3 separate regions of the Homo sapiens genome follow, and regions 1 and 3 are each linked to region 2. Evidence: promoter capture Hi-C in human tissues and cell types (Jung and others, 2019). All regions are on one chromosome and are shown on one strand. The core of a region is centred on a gene start or on the middle of the fragment in contact, and the rest is flanking DNA. Distances in the headings are between cores, read along the strand shown.

Region 1 (3,336 bases), core at 2-2,501, 68 kb after region 2:
AGGCCACGGGGATCCGCCAGGAGCTCCCAGGGGGAGTTCCTCACATGACTCCGACCCGGCAGAATGCTGGGCTGGGGCTGCTGGGCTGGGGCTGCTGGGCTGCCGGGAGAACCCACGCTCCCACTGCAGCAGCAACTACCCTCCCACCCGGTCAGGCACCCACACCCCCTGGGCCGAGGCTGAAGGAGGGGTGCAAACGGCCCTTACCCGGTTTCCAGGGTCTCCCTTGCAGCCAGGAGGTCCGATGCGCCCCAGCTTGCCCTGAAGGAGAAGGGGGCAGGAGGAGTCTCAGGGCGGGGTTCTGGGGTCCATGTGTGCCAACGACCAAGACACAGCCCACCCGGTTCTGCCCCGCAGGGCTGCAGCGCTCTCCTCCTGGCACACGGGTGCCCACATGAGGCCACGGCTGCTGTGGAGCTGTCTCCGGGGAGGCAGAGTGGCCGTTGTGCAGGAACAGGCCATCCCTGGCTGCCTCCCAGAGGCCCTGAGGGCAGAGCTCCCTGGGCACAGAGGATGTTCCCACGGGGAGCCATGGAAGGAGTGGGTGGGGCTGTCCTGTGGTTTGACCTGGGAGTGGGTAGGCTTGTTGCTGGCCTCTGTGTGCAGCTGTGGAGCTGCCCCAAGCCGGGATGTGCAGCCATGAATTAGATGCAGGCTGGTGAAGCCCTGGGTGGGGCAGTGGGATGTGGCAGGAGCTGAAGTTCGTGTGTGTGTGTGTGTGTGTGTGTGTGTGTATGCGTGTGTACACATGTGTAAGCTGACAGATCAGGCTGGATCTGGGGGCCCTGCAGAGGCTGGGATGCCTCTGTGAGACCAGTCCAGCTGTGAGCCCGAGGCTCCCTCTACCTTCTGTCCATCGGTCCCGTTCTTGCCAGCCAGGCCAGGGGCCCCCTGAAGAGAGAAGGAAGAGGGAACTCCATTAGCCCCGGTCCTTCTGCCCTGAGCAGCAGGAAGGAGGGGCTCTGCCTACCCAGCCAGCCTACCTTGCGACCGTCGGCTCCAAATTCACCCTGTGTAGGAGGAAAGCCGGCGCAGTGAGCTCGGTGCCTCAAAGCATCATGGGCACTGCTGCCTCTGGGGGGCAAAGCCCTTGGGCCAAACTCAAGGCCACAGGACCCCCCAGGAGCCCCCAAAGCCACCACTGAGAAAAGACCAGGCCGGTGCCCCAGGAGCAGTGACAGGCTGCGGCGGACGCCAAGAGGTGGGTCTGGGCCGAGGCTGGCGCAGGTCTGAGGTCTGTCAGGGCAAGAGCCTCACCTTCTCTCCTTTGAAGCCAGGAACGCCCTGGGGGCAGGAGGAGAGAGGGGCATTAGTGAGGAGCTCTGCAGAGACACAGGCAGGGAAGGGCCAGCCCTGCAGGCTGAGGGGAGTGCTCGGTGGGCCGCTGGCATCTAGTGTTCTCGACAAACAGTCTGCGGAGGAGGCTGAGCCCTGGGTCGGGCTGGAGGCTGGGTTTTGGGACGGCCATCAAGTTATCGAGGTGCTTCTGTTCCTTGGTAACTGGGGGGAGGGTCGTAGAGGCTGAGGCCGAGGCTGGGCTGGGGGGAGCCTGCCTGGCAGTGCTGGGGCCTCAGGGTGGAGCCAAGCCCCTGGCCGAGGTCACTCACCTTGGGTCCTGGGAATCCAATGGGGCCTTCGATGCCCGGGTCTCCCTGTGAAGGACAACGCAGCAGTGTGAGCCCAGCCCTGGGGCGCTGGGCTGCAGGCGGGGCGGGCGTGGGGCAAGGACACTCACCTGTCTTCCCTTCTGGCCAGGCTCTCCCGGCTCACCCATGTTGCCCTTGGCACCCTAAAAGCAGAGAAAAGAGTACATCGAGGCAGGGTAGGGTGGGCGGTAGGCAGCTGGGGACCCTGCCACAGCTCCTCTGAGAGGTGACACAGCAGAGGTTACTGATTCCCCTGCCCAAGTGGAGAAGTCTTGGTGTCAGCTGCTCCCCAAAGGGCCAGCCTCTGTCAGACAAGGGTTTGCTTTGACCCATTTCTCCCAGCTCTGAGGGAAGCTTCCCACAAAGCCACCTGCAAAATGGAGCCAGAAGAGACCCCTGGGGTGGGGGTGCCTGGCCCGTGGGGGTCCCTTCTGCACCCAGTAGCTGTGACTGTGGCCAACACTGGGCTCTGATTCTCCAGCGATGCCTGGGTCACCGTCACTACAAAGATTAATTCCTTTATCTAAGTAACTTTAGACAGATCAGGACTTCAGAACACCACATAAAGGTTACACTCTCTTGGAATTAAAATTTTAACCTATGATACAGAACTTTATTAAATAAATTCATCTATTTATTGATATGCTCCCAATTTAAGTGCAAAGAGGAGCAGAGGAAAGGGGAAGAATTAAGAGGTCAAAAGGAAGAAAAGGGAGGAAACTCAGGGCAGGGGATGAGGTGGGCAGAGGCTTCTGGAACATCACAGCTGTGCCCTGTCCTGGGCTCCGCTTGGCACCTTGCCACCCCTCAAACTCTAACCACAGTGATCCCTGTGGCAGCTTCCAGTGGCCCCCCCAACAGAACGGGTCACTGCACTGCTGTGTGCAGCCAAGGCTGCCCCAAGTGGCAAATTCATTCCCAGCTGTAGTAGGGTCGGCATTGCCACCAGGACTGGAGAAGCCAGGGAGGGAGATGGCAGGATTTGACCTGCAGCCTCGAGATGTCTCATCCTGGAGAAAGTACATCCAGATACCTACTGGTCTAGACAGCTGTTATCCAAATTTAGAAAAACACGAAGCTACGTAGCAGTAACATCCTCTATGATGGTCAATTCCTTATTTCATCTCCTTAGAAGCTACTTTCTCCTCCTATGCTTTTCTTTATAATTTTTAACAGATGTGAATTGTTGGAGTTTCACATACTCTGTTAGTGAGTTTTGGAAGGACTTTATTTGATGCACCTCTGTTAGGAAAATGCAGGGGATGTTCAAACCAGAAAATGCAGGGGACATTCAAACCAGGCTCCCTAAAACTGCTTATTTAGTAAGCCACAAAAGAGGTTCCTTCATATTAATGAGCAATCATATTATTAAGTGTAGTGCATCTCACATTTTACTTACTTGAATATGCTTGCTTACCAAAGTATTTTAATGGCATATCTCATTTTTTACAAGCTTCTGCTTTTCTCAATATACTATTTAAAAGGAATTAGACATATAGAGTTTTAGTTTCTCCAGGGACAGAAGTGTTGAGACAATTTGAGATACAGCTGGCCTTAAATGTGGCTTTCTTTTCTTTTTTTTTTTTTTTTGAGACAGAGTCTTACTCTGTTGCCCAGGCTGGAGTGCAGTGGCGTGATCTCTGCTCACTGCAACCTCCGCTTCCCAGGTTCAAGCGATTCTCCTGCCTCA
Region 2 (4,488 bases), core at 388-2,887:
CTTGTCTTTTCATTTTCTTGACATTCTTTGCAGAGCAGAAAGTTTCAGTTTCATTAATTAAAGTATTTTATTGAGACAGGGTCTCACTTTGTCACGCAAGTTAGAGCACAGCCGCGCAACCACAGTTCACTGTAGCCTCGACCTCCCAGGCTCAAGCAATCCTCCCACCTCAGTGTTCCGAGTAGCTGGGACAACAGACACGCACCACCACATCTGCCTAATCTTCTGACTGTTTTCTACAGATGGGGTGTCCTTCTCTTTTGATAACTTTGGTAGGGTTTGTCCATTTCCTGTGGTTGTGGAGCACGGGCATCAAGCTTTAACTACACCCCACAAATTCTAATGTCATGTTTTTATTCTCATTCAACTTGAAATATTCTCTGGTTTCCTTCGTGCTTTTGTCTTTTTCAAGACTTTTTTAAGAGGAGTTTTAGGTTCTTAGCAAAATTGAGAGGAAGATAGAGAGATTTCCCCACTCGCTGCCCCAACAAATGCACAGCCTCCCCTATTATCAACAAACTACCTGACAGCCACAATTGTCAGCAAAACGCACATGAGGGAAAAATATAAAATATAAGTAGCGTTGTATCTATTTAAGAAATTGATTTAGAAATTTAAAACTTTTCCAGAAGAAATCTAGTTCTAGATAGCTTCACAGATGAATTCTATCCGACGTTTAAGAAGGAACACCCAGAAAATGGCGCAGAATCTCTGCGGCTCATTTTAAAAGGCCAGTGTTCCAAAGCCAGACCGAGACATCACAAGAAAAGGAGATTCAGATCGACTTCCCCTGTGAGCATAAAAATACTTAAAATATTAATAAATTGAATCCAGCGCTATATTAAAAGGATAATGTGTCAAGACCAGAAAACTGTCAGAATGTTGATAGGTCCGTGGCTGGAGAGTACCTGACGTCAAGAGAAGGTTTCCTTGGAGCGGGAGGAAGACGGCATTTAAAATATGATGGGAGGAGCCAGGGCAGGAAAAGCCATTCAGGGCCCCGTCGGGCTCAGAGCGGGGGGCGCATCCGTGACTCATCCCTCGCTTCTCTCTCTGCCCTGCATCCTGGACGCCCTGCATGCCCTCGTCAGTGGGCTGTGGCTGGGCCCCCGTTGTCTTGATCTGAGGTGTGAGCCCTGTGGTGCAACACCAGGCTGGTTGGGTTGTGTCAGGAACGCTTGGGGTGTAGAAACCTCCTTTCTCCACAAAGCCTGACTCAAGACTTTCTCTCCTAGAAGCAACCTTCCCCTAATCTGGCCGCCCGGGCTGAATGAAGGTGGTGTTCTCCCAGGGGCATCTGCACCTGAGTGCCCTTGGTGGTCCTGAGTGCCCGTCACAGGGCTGGAGGTGTGGCCGGCCCACTGGGATGGTGGTGGTGGTGGGTGCCCATCACAGGGCTGGAGGTGTGGCCGGCCCACTGGGTTGGTGGTGGTGGGTGCCCGTCACAGGGCTGGAGGTGTGGCCGGCCCACTGGGTTGGTGGTGGTGGGTGCCCGTCACAGGGCTGGAGGTGTGGCCGGCCCACTGGGTTGGTGGTGGTGGGTGCCCGTCACAGGGCTGGAGGTGTGGCCGGCCCACTGGGTTGGTGGTGGTGGGTGCCCGTCACAGGGCTGGAGGTGTGGCCGGCCCACTGGGTTGTGCTTTCTGCCGTACGTCCCTTCCCATGAGGATGAGATGACCCATCTGTTGCATCCCGGCTGCTGATAAAACAAGACCCTCGGAGCCAAGAAACAACACTGAGGTGATTTACTTTCCCAAGTAATTGAAGCAGGGAGTCAGGGTGGGTTTCAAGTCGGTCGCACTGACTGAGGACAGACGCCTGCTCTAGCAGGGCCCCATGAGCCGCAGCCCTGTGTGACGGCCCGAGGGGCCGTGGCCATGGGTTGGGGGCGTCCTCAGTTACGTGCAGGCAGGAGCAGTGCAGTCAGGAACAATTGGTGTCTTAGACACGGGCGCTCGTGGTCTGAGGGGTGGACATGCACTGCTGGACCCTTCTCATCAGGGAGTGAGGTCAGTAGGTGGCCTCCAGCCCAGCCCTCAGGGCCACCCAGTGCTCCAAAGCATGTGGGGGCCATCGTGGGGCTGCCTCAGGCTGGTCTCCCCACCCTAGGCTGGTCTCCCCCGCAAGACTGGTCTCCTCCCCCAGGCTGGTCTCCCCCACAAGGCTGGTCTCCTCCCCCAGGCTGGTCTCCTCACCAGGCTGGTCTCCTCCCCCAGGCTGATCTCCCCGCCCAGGCTGGTCTCCCCCGCAGGCTGGTCTCCCCCGCAAGCTGGTCTCCTCCCCCAGGCTGGTCTCCTCACCAGGCTGGTCTCCTCCCCCAGGCTGATCTCCCCGCCCAGGCTGGTCTCCCCCGCAGGCTGGTCTCCCCCGCAAGCTGGTCTCCTCCCCCAGGCTGGTCTCCTCACCAGGCTGGTCTCCTCCCCCAGGCTGATCTCCCCGCCCAGGCTGGTCTCCCCCGCAGGCTGGTCTCCCCCACAAGGCTGGTCTCCTCCCCCAGGCTGGTCTCCTCACCAGGCTGGTCTCCTCCCCCAGGCTGATCTCCCCGCCCAGGCTGGTCTCCCCCGCAGGCTGGTCTCCCCCGCAAGCTGGTCTCCCCTGCAGGCTGGTCTCCTCCCCAGGCTGGTCTCCCCCGCAGACTGGTCTCCCCCACAAGCTGGTCTCCCCACCAGGCTGGTCTCCCCCACATGCTGGTCTCCTCCCACTGCCCTTGCCAGTCCCTCCCTCCTCAAGTGTGGGTGCCAAGGACGGACCCTGATGAACACCTGCACATCAGTTGCTGCCCTGGGTGCCAGGGTCCACAGGAAGCTGCACTGGGAACCCTGTGTCCTGGGCAGGTCCTATGGGAAGTGCAGCCCACATGTTACTCGGGTGAAGGCAGCGTCCCCACCCAGCTTGAGGACACCACACAGGGTGGACACCCGACCCTGGCTGGGCCGCTCAATGGGGAGTGGCTTGGACGCCCCTCTTGGAGTACAGTCGCTACATCCCGTAGCTGCCTAATGTCCTTGGCATTCTCGGGCCCTGGTCATAATGTGGGAGTGGCTGCCTGTGCACGCCACGGGCCTCCAGCTTCACTGCCTCAACGGGGCCATGAGCCATCGCGGGGGCAGGCAGGGTGCTGGGCACCTCATCACTAGGGCAGTGACATCACAAGGCGTGGAAGGCGGTGGTGGCTACGGAACTCCGTGCCTGGGCTGTTTCTGTGGTGCCTGCGGGCTCTGGGCTCCCACCTCCATGGGGCTGCAGGAGCCGTGAGGGACAAGGAGGGACGCACCCGCCATGGCTGAAGGCGGCGAGCTGATGAGCCGGCTCCTGAGCGAGAACGCGGACCTGAAGAAGCAGGTGCGCCTCCTGAAGGAGAATCAGATGCTGCGGCGGCTGCTCAGCCAGAGCTGCCAGGAGGGCGGCGGCCACGACCTGCTCCCACCCAGGGCGCATGCCTACCCTGAGGCCGGCTCCCCCGGGAGCGGAGGTGAGGCGCCGCCCAGCTCAGATGGCCTGGTAGATGAGGGGGTCGCGGGACGCCTGCTCCCCGGGAGTCGAGGGTGGCGGCCAGCTCCCTGATGCGGGAGGTCACGGGCACCTTTCACACCCTCAGGTCTGAGTAAAGCAAGACCAGGTGGTGGGTTCTGCTGTTGCCCTCAGGTGAGGCCCCTCCCCTCCCCTTCGGTCGCTGGCGAAGTGGGAGTGGTCAACCGCTGGCAGGTGGACTGGTCAGCTGCAGTCATGGAAGTGTCCCCATAGGGGTAGAGCAGGTGGCGCGCAGGCTTGTGGGCCTCCAGGGCCCCAGGCAGCTCTTCCAGGCTGGTCCTGGCTGGCAGTTTGCTCTGCTGCATGTGTCTCTTCTCCTGGGTCAGGGGCGAGGGGGGTGTCAGACCAGCCACACGAGTCCCATGAGTGCTGTGTCCCATCCACTCATGTCCCCGGCCAGAGCCAGGCCAGCCCCATGGTGGGAAGGTCCCACCCTGGGGAGGCCTCAGAGCCACCGGCCAGGGGAGCAGGTAGGGACAAGTGGGCGCCTGTCCCTGCGGGGCTGGGAGTGTGGAGCCATGATCCACTCACCACATAGCATTGACTCCGACCTTCTGTGGCTTTTTACTGAAAAAAGTATATATATAGGGTTTGGTCACTTTCTGCAAAGTAGTAGGCTTTATTCTAAAAGGTTTGGGAAAAACATTACCCGTTCCTGCATGTGATTTGGGGTGGGGCTGACAGATGTACCCTTGACTTTTTGTTGGGATGGTGGGCAGAGGACAGAGTCCCTGACCCAGCACTGCCTGGGATTCCCACGGCCAACCTCAGCTTCCCACCGGGCCGGGCCCGGAAAGGACGTGGTCAGCCTGCCTGGTCCTGGACGATGGAGCAGGCAGCCTCGCCAGTGCCCGTGAACACTGCTGTCTGCGAGCACGAGCCATGCCCGGGAGGCCAGCTCTGCCACTCACCAAGGGGCCGCTCCAGCACCTGTGCTGGGGGTGGGGGAGGTTGCTT
Region 3 (4,494 bases), core at 1-2,500, 75 kb before region 2:
GGGAAACCTGCTCCCAGGAGTTGAAGTAAGTGAAACGCTGGTGTCTTGCTGTGCCAGGAGAGTGAGCTTTGGCTCTGCCCTAGGCTGTGTCTTGCACCACTGAGGATGGGCTATTGGAAATGGATCTTGCCTGTCTAAGCTACTTTGATTTTGTGACCAAATGTATTTGATGCAGTCCTCTGTGCTCCCTTGGCTAATAGAATTTTATTATAAAAAATTCTCTTTTATATGAGGGCTGCCACCACATGATCATAGTCAGCCATCCTTATTAGCCACTGGCATTTATCATATATTTGAGACACTTCCAATTGATTGCACAAGTCAGATGTTGCTGATGAGAAGATTTTGTGGTTGTCTGCATGGTAATTTACAAATTCTACGCCAGGCACCTGTAGTCCCAGCAACTCAAGAGACTGAGGTGCAAAGATCACTTAAGCTCAGAAGTTCCAGGTAGTGTGCTATGACTGCACCTGTGGTGGCCACTGTACTCCAGCCTGGGCAACATAGTGAGACCCTGTCTCTAAAATAATTAAAAATTCTGACTATTTTATTAAGATAAAGGTTTATTTCTTAACTGTTACGAGGGCCCCTATGGACCTATAATTTGGCACCCTGTTCCACTTAATTCTTTTTACCCTGTCTTTCTAGGTGTCTGTAGTTTAAGTATTAAAGCTTCTTTTACAATGAAGATAGAATTACATTTTAATACTGAGGATGCAGACTCTTGCACTTTTTTTTTTTAAAGACGGAGTCTTGCTCTGTCGCCCACACTGGAGTGCAGTGGCGTGATCTGGGTTCACTGCAACCTCTGCCTCCTGGGTTCAAGCGATTCTCCTAGCTCAGCCTCCCAAGTAGCTGGAATTACAGGCATGCACCGCCATGCCCAGCTAATTTTTTTTTTTTTTTTTTTTTTGAAATGGAGTTTTACTCTGTTACCCAAGCTGGAGTGCAGTGGTGCCATCTCGGCTCACTGCAAGCTCCGCCTCCCGGGTTCACGCCATTCTCAGCCTCCTGAGTAGCTGGGACTACAGGAGCCTGCCAATATGCCTGGCTAATTTTTCATATTTTTAGTAGAGACGGGGTTTCACCGTGTTAGCCAGGATAGTCTCGATCTCCTGACCTCGTGATCCGCCTGCCCTGGCCTCCCAAAGTGCTGGGATTACAGGCATGAGCCACCGTGCCTGGCCGCCAGCTAATTTTTTGTATTTTTAGTAGAGACGGGGTTCTACCATGATGGCCAAGCTGGTTTCGAACTCCTGACCTGAAGTGATTTGCCTGCTTTGGCCTCGCAAAGAGCTAGGATTACAGGTGTAAGCCACTGTGCCTGGCCGACTCTTGCACTTTTCTTTTTTTTTTTTTTTTGAGACGGAGTCTCGCTCTGTCGTCCAGGCTGGAGTGCAGTGGCGCGATCTCTGCTCACTGCAAGCTCTGCCTCCCGGCTTCACGTCATTCTCCTGCTTCAGCCTCCCGAGTAGCTGGGACTACAGGCGCCCGCCACCACACCAGGCTAATTTTTTTGTATTTTTAGTAGAGACAGGGTTTCACCATGTTAGCCAGGATGGTCTGGATCTCTTGACCTCATGATCCACCCGCTTCGGCCTTCCAAAGTGCTGGGATTACAGGCGTGAGCCACCGCGCCTGACTGACTCTTGCACTTTTCAAGCAAGCCCTCAGTGTCTGTGGGCCCCAAGTGCAGTGTCTTCCATGCTGATTGCCCTGTTTCTAGGAATGCAGTAGAGACAGACCAGAGGGTCCGTGTGGCCCGTTGCTGTGAGGATGTCTGTGCCCACTTAGTGGACTTGTTTCTCGTGGAGGAAATCTTCCAGACTGCAAAGGAGACCCTCCAGGAGCTTCAGTGCTTCTGCAAGTATCTACAGCGGTGAGTCCTGTGTTCCTACAGGCAAAATCCACACACACGGGGAAGAGTCTTTTAACAAATTCAAAATATATGAGCTATTAGTTTCTGTATTCAGTGGTAAAAGGATGAGGGAAAATGTTATAGCAATGAATACCTAAAATAGACTAATTGGATTATACTGCATTTCAGAAATACTTGATTACACACACACACACACACACATACAATATAAGGGGAAAAGTCAGGAGTTAGATTGGGACGTGGTGGCTACTCTGTATGTCAACTGATATTTATAGGGTGCCTGCCATTTGCCCACTGCACTAGGTGCTGGGAGACAGCTATGAACAAGCCAGATTATGGCTGCATGCACCAATAAGGGTGAATTCTCAAAATATAAGTAGTGGAGAAAAAGCAATTAATAGGGAATATACAAATAGTGTATATTCAAACTAAATAGGTTGTTTCAGATTTATATATAGTGGTATAACCCTAAAGAAAAGAAGGAAAATAATGATCATAATCTCAGCATAGTGGTTACTTTTGGGAATGGGAGGTGGTGCCTCTCATGGCCACAACTTCTCAACTGGGTGTAAGTGCACAGGTGCTTGATGATTTATTAATCTTATAACTGGGCATATATGTGTTACGTATGTTGTATGATTCATTTCATAATAAAATTTAAAATCAGTAATAGTGTCCTTGGTAGTTGGAACAGTATAAAAGGGAGTATGGGGAGAAGTGAGTCTTCCTTCTACAACAGACCCCTGTCCATTGTGCGAGCAGCAGCTGCTTGCGAAACCATCCAGAGACTTTCTGTCCTTTCTTGTGGCTCTTGGCACAGATGGGCTCATGATCCCTGCTTTGCTCTGAGCCTTCCTTTGCTCCATCTGATATGAGGTGGAGGCTTGGCTGTAGCAGCATGCTGAGCTGTCCCCGTTGCCAGTGGTCTTGAGGTCAGTGCGATAATGTACCATAAATGACCTTCCTGGTCTTCTGTTGATGGACTTTCATGTGGCTCTTTTTTTTTTTTTTTTTGAGATGGAGTCTCACTCTGTCGCCCAGGCTGGAGTGCAGTGGCGCAATCACAGCTCACTGCAACCTCCACCTCCCAGGTTCAAGTGATTCTTCTGCCTCAGCCTCCTGAGTAGCTGGGACTACAGGCGTGCGCCACCATGCTCGGCTAATTTTGTTTTTTTTATTTTTAGTAGAGATGGGGTTTCACCATATTGGCCAGGCTGCTCTCGAACTCCTGACCTCGTGATCCGCCCGCCTCGGCCTCCCAAAGTGCTGGGATTACAGGCGTGAGCCACCGAGCCTGGACGTAGCTCTTTTTAGCTCTGGTAAAGACTGTTGCAGTGACTGTTGTTGTACAGACAGACATCTCACCCGTTTGCACACAGGCACGTGTGTGGAGATAAATTCCTATCAGTGGTGGCTGTGGGTCAAGGGATATATGTATCTTTTTTTTTTTTTTTTTTTTTTTTTGAGACGGAGCCTTGCTGGTACACACAGCCTGGAGTGCAGTGGTGTGATCTCGGCTCACTGCAACCTCCACCTCCTGGGTTCAAGGGATTCTCCTGCCTCAGCCTCCCAAGTAGCTGGGACCACAGTCGCCCACCACCATGCCCGGCTAATTTTTTGTATTTTAGTAGAGATTGGGTTTCACTGTGTTGCGCAGGCTGGTCTTGAACTCTTGAGCTCAGGCAGTCCGCCCGCCTTGGCCTCCCAAAGTGCTGGGATTACAGGCGTGAGCCACTGCACCCAGCTGGGTATATGTATCTTAAATCTGTATCCATATTGCCAAGTCAGCCTCCAAAGCTCATTCAGTATTAACTGTTAACGTTCGGTAGTTTCATTGCTCACCACACTCATTTGATGTCCTTCCTTCCCCATGCCTGAGTTCTGACTGCAATGTGTTTCTCAGTTTGAAGACCCTGAAAACACTCTGTGATGATACATTTTCATGTCCCCAGGTGGAGGGAAGCTGTCACAGCCCGCAAGAAACTGAGGCGCCAAATGCGGGCTTTCCCTGCTGCGCCCTGCTGCGTGGACGTGAGCGACCGGCTGAGGGCGCTGGCGCCCAGCGCAGAGTGCCCCATTGCTGAAGAGAACCTGGCCAGGGGCCTCCTGGACCTGGGCCATGCAGGGAGATTGGGCATCTCCTGCACCAGGTCAGCATCAGCTGTCGCCTGCCTCGTCAGGGCTCCCCTGCCCCCACTTGGTTTTACCAGGAGCGGAATTAATGTGTGTGTTTGGAGGGTGAAGATAGGTGAAGCCTGGAGGCGAAGATAGGTGAAGCCTGGAGGCGAGGACAGGCACAGGGTTGCATTTTGAAGGTTGTCTCCCACAGTTGTGGACATGTGACTTGTTCCACTGGCAAAGCAGAGCTCTGAGTTCACCTTGAAAGACTCAGCGTCCTGGTGCCTGAGTCTGACTCTGCATCACGTGTTCTTTTCCTGCTCGTCCCAGTTTAAGTACCTGCCACTTCCATCCTTGTTGGAGGAGCCGGAGGTCCACGCTGGCCTGTGTCTTCCGATCCCATCCCCGCCCCATCCCTCTGTTCCTCCCGCCGTCTCCTTCACACACTGCCCCCTTTCTGTGGCAGCATCTTCCAGACTCCACCTCCACCCTCCATT

What was found. The method cuts DNA at HindIII sites, captures the fragments that hold promoters and counts their contacts. A contact is called where the count stands out against the background at its distance.
Region 1: a fragment that was not itself captured here is called in contact with the fragment with the promoter of SPATC1L in region 2 in 2 of the 25 tissues and cell types used here (H1 embryonic stem cells and IMR-90 fibroblasts).
Region 3: a fragment that was not itself captured here is called in contact with the fragment with the promoter of SPATC1L in region 2 in 2 of the 25 tissues and cell types used here (IMR-90 fibroblasts and pancreas).

The regions. Positions count from the first base shown.
Region 1 is chr21:46,114,325-46,117,660 of GRCh38, reverse strand. COL6A2 (collagen type VI alpha 2 chain) reads right to left here. Exons shown (of 28, transcript NM_001849.4): 6 at 1,736-1,789; 7 at 1,608-1,652; 8 at 1,258-1,284; 9 at 984-1,010; 10 at 847-891; 11 at 208-261. Among named protein-coding and RNA genes, the nearest start is that of COL6A2, 18 kb to the right of the region's middle. The HindIII fragment of the contact is 7,903 bases long and covers 1-3,336 here.
Region 2 is chr21:46,181,608-46,186,095 of GRCh38, reverse strand. SPATC1L (spermatogenesis and centriole associated 1 like) reads left to right here and starts at 1,637. Exons shown (of 5, transcript NM_001142854.2): 1 at 1,637-1,740; 2 at 2,322-3,472. The coding sequence starts at 3,280. It overlaps LOC124905045 (a long non-coding RNA gene), which reads right to left and starts at 1,549. Exons shown (of 2, transcript XR_007067914.1): 1 at 909-1,549. RefSeq lists enhancers at 2,368-2,971, 2,972-3,575. The HindIII fragment of the contact is 12,071 bases long and covers 1-4,488 here.
Region 3 is chr21:46,256,324-46,260,817 of GRCh38, reverse strand. It overlaps MCM3AP (minichromosome maintenance complex component 3 associated protein), which reads left to right. Exons shown (of 28, transcript NM_003906.5): 15 at 1-25; 16 at 1,727-1,879; 17 at 3,832-4,029. Among named protein-coding and RNA genes, the nearest start is that of MCM3AP, 27 kb to the left of the region's middle. The HindIII fragment of the contact is 8,306 bases long and covers 1-4,494 here.